Regions from separate parts of the Homo sapiens genome. Here region 1 is linked to region 2. Evidence: promoter capture Hi-C in human tissues and cell types (Jung and others, 2019). All regions are on one chromosome and are shown on one strand. Each heading gives the region's core, a stretch centred on a gene start or on the middle of the fragment in contact. The rest is flanking DNA. Distances are from core to core; before and after follow the strand shown.

Region 1 (3,167 bases), core at 396-2,895, 400 kb before region 2:
GAGCATTCAAGGAAGATTTCTGGAAAAGGTGATGTCTAAGTGAAATCCTCAAGGAAAGAAAGAGCTGGCCAGGAAGAGAAGCAGGTACAGGGAAGACAACATGCAAAGGACAGAGCAGTAAAACACACCAGAATTATCTAGTGTTCGTGGATAGAAAAATAATGAGGATTGGTGAGGCCAGAGGCTGGCTGGGGCGTCTTCCGGTGCCTTTTACATGTTTTTTGCAGCACTAGAGAGCCATTGAAGAGTTTTAAATAGGGAAGGTGCATGACCAGATCTATTTAGACAGATCATTCTGACTGCAATGTTTAAGAGTTTAAGATATGTTTGAAGAGCCAAGATCTGTTAGGAGGATACTGCAACAAATAAAGAGGGCGTGAACTAGAGCAACCATGGCAGATGGAAAGGAGAGTGGATTCAAGAATGGAAAAATTAGCCAGGCTCTGTGGTTCACGCCTGTCCTCCCAGCACTTTGGGAGGCCAAGACAGGAGGATCACTTGAGCCCAGGAGTTGGGACCAACCTGGGCAGCACAGTAAGACCCATCTCTATAAAAATTAAAAAAATAAATAAAAACGGAAAAATCAGCTGGACTTGATGGTTGACTAGTAAAGGAAGTCAAGAATTGCTCCCAATTTCTGGTTTGGGTGAAGAGTAATTCCATTAGGGGAGGAGAATGTTAGAAAGAAACCAGTCCGGGGTGGGGGGAAGATGAGGCATTCTACTGTGGCAATTTTGACTCTGATATTAATGCCTGACAGATTCCAGCTGGAGGTCTGGGCTGGAGAATATAAATTTGATATGTGTGTTTAGAGAATCGGATGGAGGCAGGAGGAACATCATTTGGCAGAGGGTGTTGCTAATGTAGATGATAAGGAATAAGAGCTTTGGAGCGGAAATGGATCTTGGTAGCAACAATACAGAATCTTCTGTCATCCATCATATTGTAAATCTGGAAACCTCGTGAAGTTGGGATCCTAACAAGAGGAGTACACACCTTGATTTAAGGATGGTGGCCTAAGACAGGTGAGTTTTCCATGGGGGGCCTTGTCCCCAAAGAGTTCACACCAGGAGTAGATTCACCCGTTGTCGGGCTCTCATGGGTGACAATCGGCGCAAGTTCTCCTCACCTGATCCGCAAAATAGATCTTCTGCTTGCCGTACATCTTCTCTTTGATCTTGCCTTGTTGCGCCAGCTGCTCCAGCGTCTTCACCACCACCTGGCAGAGGAGAGAGAAGGAGCAATCAGAGGAGTCTGAGCCTGGGTCTGGGGAAATCCAGCCAGTGATGTGGAAAACGCCCAAGGCTCCAAAGGGCACGACCCCAGCCTGAATCCAGGGAGTCCGACGGAGAGGGAATCCCGGGAGAAGGTCCTCACCGCCTTGCCCAGTCCGTGTTCCCGCTGTAGGTTCCCGAACACATCCTGGGAGCTGTAGGGCCGGTTCTGCTCCTGCAGGTACCTCAGGAGGATCCCGGCGGCTACGGAGAGAAAGGCAGGGGAGGGGGCCACTCAACCGACCTCCTCACCCACTGCCCTCCCGGGTCTTCCCCGCGCCCACGGCGCCGTTACCTCCCGCCGCAGCTTCTGCCCGGCCTTTACTCATCGCCTTTCCCGCCACCCAACTCAGAAAGCCGGACGTTGTAGTTGCTCGGGGCGACGGCTCCTTCCGGCGACGGGGGCGGGCCTCGAACGGTGATTGGCTGAAGGGGAAGCCTTCCGGAGGAGCAAAGCGACCCCTCCCGGACTCCATAGTTCATTTCAGGTCGGAACTTGCGCATTCGGGCCGGACCTCAAGCCATGGGCCTCTGCGAAGGCGCCGGCGTGCCCACGGCTAAGAAACTTCCTCTTTCTGCTCCCGGGAACGAAGGCTGTAGCAGAGAAGGCCTTCAAGTTTCGAGACCCAGTTCCAGCCGCAGCTGAGCACTGGTGACCTTGAATTAAGTCTAATGTTGGGATTGGAAGACGCTTCAGACATCCGCTGCCGCCCTGGGCAAGCGACCAGCTCAAGGTTACCCCACAGGGACGTGCTCTGGTCCCACGGTCCAGTGCTCTTTTGTCGGTTAGTTTTGTCATTTGTAAAATAGGAACAGTAGATAGTGGTAGGAAAGTGGTTGTGAAAACTTAATAGAAAGCTAAGCGCCTTGGTCGGGCGCAGTGGCATGTCACCCCTGCAATTCTATCACTTTGGGAGGCTGAGGCGGGCGGATCGTTTGAGCCCAGGAATTCGAAACCAGTCTGGGCAATATGAAACCCCATCTCTGCAAATAAAGTACAAAAAATTAAGAGTGGTGGCGCGCTTCTGTGGTCCCAGCTACTCTGGAGGCTGAGGTGGGAGGGTCACCAGAGCCCCGGACATCGAGGCTGCAGTGAGCCACTATGAGCGCGCCACTGCACCCCATCCTGGCGACAGAGCGAGACGCAGTCTCGAACAAAAAAAAAAAAAGTGGGAAGGGGGGACAGCTAAGCGCCTTGGAGAGCAACCACCCTTATTTGCCTAATACCGAGCTTCGCACCCAGGGGGCACTCGACACCTACTGTAGTTTGGACGCCAAGGAACGATAGGGTTAGGAGGGGGCTACTGTTCAACCACAAAGCTTGTGGAAAAGTTTGTTAGCCCAGACAATCTCAGGGCAACACCTGGCAGGTGCTTTCCACCCCTGACCACAGTGGCCAATGGGACAGAGCCTGAAATAAATATTTCTAGTTTCTGAGGTGAGCTGAAGGCCAAAGAGCAGCTGTCCCTGCAGCTCAGACCATCCAGTGAAGGAGTAAGGTGCTACTTTTTAAAGCCTTCTGCTACCTACAACCTCCTTAGCCTTTAAAACGTGTGCTTGTCTCTGCACGTTTAGGAGACAATATTAAGAATTAGAAATGAAAGGGCCGAGCGCGGTGGCTCACGCCTGCAATCCCAGCACTTTGGGAGGCCAGGGCGGGCGGATCACGAGGTCAGGAGATCGAGACCATCCTGGCTAACACTGTGAAACCCCATCTCTACTAAAAATACAAAAAATTAGCCAGGCGTGCTGGTGGGCGCCTGTAGTCCAAGCTACTCAGGAGGCTGAGGCAGGAGAATGGCGTGAACCCGGGAGGCGGAGCTTGCAGTGAGAGATCGCACCACTGCACTCCAGCCTGGGCGACAGACCAAGACTCCGTCTCAGGAAAAAAAA
Region 2 (3,421 bases), core at 918-3,417:
TACTAAAAATACAAAATTAGCTGGGTGTGGTGGCACATGCCTGTAATCACAGCTACTCGGGAGACTGAGGCAGGAGAATCGCTTGAATCTGGGAGGCGGAGGTGTAGTGAGCTGCGATCATGCCATTGCACTCCAGCCTGGGCAACAAGAGCGAAACTCCGAATCAAAAAAAAAAAAAAAAAAAAAAACAGAAAGAAAAAAGAAAAAGAAATGGCTGGGCACATTGGCTCACGCCTGTAATCCTAGCAGTTTGGGAGGCTGAGGCGGGTAGACCACCTGAGGTCAGGAATTCAAGACCAGCCTGACCAATATGGTGAAACCCCGTCTCTACTAAAAATACAAAAATTAGCCAGGCGTGGGGGCACAAGCCAGTAATCCCAGCTACTCAGGAGGCTGAGGAAGGAGAATCGCTTGAACCCGGGAAGTGGATGTTGCAGTGGGCCAAGATCGCGCCACTGCACTCCAGCCTGTGCTACGGGAGTGAGAATCCATCTCACACAAACACACACACAAAAAGAATCAAAGGTTTTGATTGTGAGTTGCAGTAAAGGGAAAGACCATGTTCATAGCAGTGCCAATATCTGAAGTGGAGTCTTACACATTTCATCACCTACAACGAAAGTAAGTTAACTGGGAGAGATTACCAAGAGAGTAAAAAGAGACTCAGGACAAATAGCTAATGTATGCAGGACTTAAAACCTGCATGACGGGTTGATAGATGCAGCAAACCACCATGGCACACGTATACCTATGTAACAAACCTGCATGTTCTGCACATGTATCCCAGAACTTTAAGTTAAAAAATAAGCCAGGCGCGGTGGCTCACGCCTGTAATCCCAGCACTTTGGGAGGCCGAGGCGGGCAGATCACCTGAAGTCGGGAGTTCGAGACCAGCCTGAGCAACAAGGAGAAACCCCATCTCTACTAAAAATACAAAATTAGCTGGGCGTGGTGGTGCATGCCTGTAATCCCAGCTACCCAGGAGGCTGAGGCAGGAGAATTGCTTGAACCCGGGAGGCGGAGGCCATGGTGAGCTGAGATCACGCCACTGCACTCCAGCCTGGGCAACAAGAGTGAAACTCCGTCTCAAAATAAATAAATAAATAAAAATAAAAAGAGAGACTAATACAGTTGGAAAAAAAAGATTAGGCAGGACTTGTTGAGTGATTGAATATTGGCTGGAAAGGAGGCAAGGACAATCCCAGCTGTAACCTGGGTACATGGAGAGAAGAAGCAGGCCACTTTCCACACACCCACCTTGATATCCTCCTTGGTAAGCCGCGGCCAGGCCACCTTTTCCTTCCATTTTCTCACAAAACAAGTAATAGAGCGGGAAGAGCGCTTATCCTGGGAGTCCTGCCAGATAGAGAGCCTCATTCTTAGGGTCTGGGGTTTAGAATTAATCTCCAGTTTCCCTGGGCAGCCCGGTTTCCATCCAAACCTTACTGTCCCATTTCACCCTTACCTTGGAGTTCACTTTGGCATAGAACTCAATCTCATTGTACAACTCCACTCCATCGGCATTCTTGCAGCTGAGGAGACAATGAAGCTGAGGAGATGCGGAATACTCCGTGTGGGGACATTAGGAAAGGGGTAGATTCCTGGGAAGCCAGGCCCTCGGACGGCAGGGCCACTACCTGAACACAATGCGGTGATCCTCAATAAGCACGTGGACATCGGTGCTGTCCTCAACACAAAACTCCATGAACACATACCTGGGCCTGTCGTACCACAAGGTCCGGGCGTGCTGCCTGAAGAGAAGTTGAGGTGTGGCTTCATAGGGGTGGGAGAGGGAAGACTGAGGTCATTTGGGAAGGGACTACCCAGGGACCTTTGATGCCACAGTTTTTTCAAAGTGGAGCTAAATGAGACAGAAGGGGTGAAAGGGAAGGGAATGACAGGAGTGGGTGGGTGTGGTGAATGTGAACCTGGGAAGAATAGAACGTGCAAGACTAGGAAACTAGGAGGTCAGGGAGAACATTCAGGTCACACCTTCCCTCACCCCACAGTTACAGAGACCAGGGGTCCGGGGCTCCCGTGGGGCCTCACAGAACCTGGAGCGCCCAGAAGACTTGGAGCAGGGAATCTCCAGGGAAAAGGGCCAGGGGGAGCACCGGAGCCGGAAACACTCACCGTGCCATTGCGGCTCCCGCTCCAGGGTGGCATTTAGAGTTCCAGGCAGGGGCCGCTATCTTTAGATCCTGGGGACGCCCCCAGCAGCTGCCTCTCCTTATATGGTCGGGAGAGCAGTTGAGAGGAAGAGAGAACATGACCTGGCAGCCAAGGGATCTGCACTCTGGAGATACTCTGGGACAGCTTCATCCTTGCAGCCCTTCACCGTGGGGTCTTCAGAAATGCATAGACTATGAAGAGACAACCCATCTGCTGGAACCAGGGCAAAGGCTGCCCTAGACGCTACACACAGGGAATGACTTTTCCCCGGTATCATTCACCTGTTTCTCCGACGCTTACTGCTCAGTGTCTGATTCACAATAGGCGCTCAATAAAACATTATTGTCCTGAATTAAATTCCCGGGGAAGGCGCGCCCTCGGGGACTTGGGTACTTCAGGCCCCGCCCACCACTCCCCTGGGGTTCCAGGCCACCGCGCCGTTGCCATGGCAGCAGGGGGGCGCGGCTGACGTGCGGTGGTGTTTCCGGGAAGATGGCGGCTGTCGAAGCGGCTGCAGAGCCGGTAACGGTGGTGGCGGCTGTTGGGCCAAAGGCGAAAGACGAAGAGGAGGAGGAAGAGGAGCCGCTGCCACCGTGCGAGGCGGTGCGCTGGGCCCCAGTGGGGGCGGTGGCGGAGGCCCGGCCTGGGGCAACCGCGTTTTTAGAAGAGGCGACGGCCGAGGAGCCTGGCGCGGCCCCGGGCTCCCCGCCGGATTCGCCGGGCCGGACGCTGCGGCGGCTGCGGGCAGAGCGGCGGCGGCTGGACTCGGCGCTGCTGGCGCTGTCCTCGCACTTCGCGCAGGTGCAGTTCCGCCTGCGCCAGGTGGTGCGCGGGGCGCCGGCGGAGCAGCAGCGCCTTCTGCGGGAGCTCGAAGACTTCGCCTTCCGCGGCTGCCCTCACGTCCTAGGTTACGAAGGGCCCGGCGACCCCGCCAGCGATGAGGGCGATGGGCTGCCAGGGGACCGGCCATGGTTGCGGGGCGAGGACCAGGTGAGTGGCTGGAGCCGGGCCGCGAGGAATATGGGAATAGTGGGGTCGTGTGGGTGGCGATCCAGACCCGGATGATGGTGCATGCGGGGAGAAGCCTCCCCGACTCGGTCGGTGAGTACGTGTGTCGGAGACCAGGGGACTGGAGTGCGGGGCCGGCTGAAGGGCAAGAGGACAGAGGCCTGGGAACCTGAGGGTGAGCGGTGTGCACGGAGGATGTGGAGAGATGTCGGTGCGTGATGACGTGAGTGGTAGAGGAGCG

Evidence for each region. The method cuts DNA at HindIII sites, captures the fragments that hold promoters and counts their contacts. A contact is called where the count stands out against the background at its distance.
Region 1: a contact is called between the fragment with the promoter of PSMC3IP here and the fragment with the promoter of PTGES3L in region 2, in 1 of the 25 tissues and cell types used here (heart left ventricle).

Annotation. Positions count from the first base shown.
Region 1 is chr17:42,576,084-42,579,250 of GRCh38, forward strand. PSMC3IP (PSMC3 interacting protein) reads right to left here and starts at 1,646. Exons shown (of 8, transcript NM_016556.4): 1 at 1,570-1,646; 2 at 1,378-1,478; 3 at 1,130-1,219. The coding sequence starts at 1,603. RefSeq lists a silencer at 1,558-1,607 and an enhancer at 1,908-1,997. The HindIII fragment of the contact is 7,362 bases long and covers 1-3,167 here.
Region 2 is chr17:42,977,913-42,981,333 of GRCh38, forward strand. PTGES3L (prostaglandin E synthase 3 like) reads right to left here and starts at 2,168. Exons shown (of 7, transcript NM_001261430.2): 1 at 2,134-2,168; 2 at 1,638-1,751; 3 at 1,466-1,532; 4 at 1,258-1,356. The coding sequence starts at 2,141. It overlaps PTGES3L-AARSD1 (PTGES3L-AARSD1 readthrough), which reads right to left and starts at 2,616. Exons shown (of 17, transcript NM_001136042.2): 1 at 2,134-2,616; 2 at 1,638-1,751; 3 at 1,466-1,532; 4 at 1,258-1,356. The coding sequence starts at 2,270. It overlaps RUNDC1 (RUN domain containing 1), which reads left to right and starts at 2,653. Exons shown (of 5, transcript NM_173079.5): 1 at 2,653-3,162. The coding sequence starts at 2,665. RefSeq lists an enhancer at 2,580-2,649 and a silencer at 2,720-2,969. The HindIII fragment of the contact is 11,093 bases long and covers 1,199-3,421 here.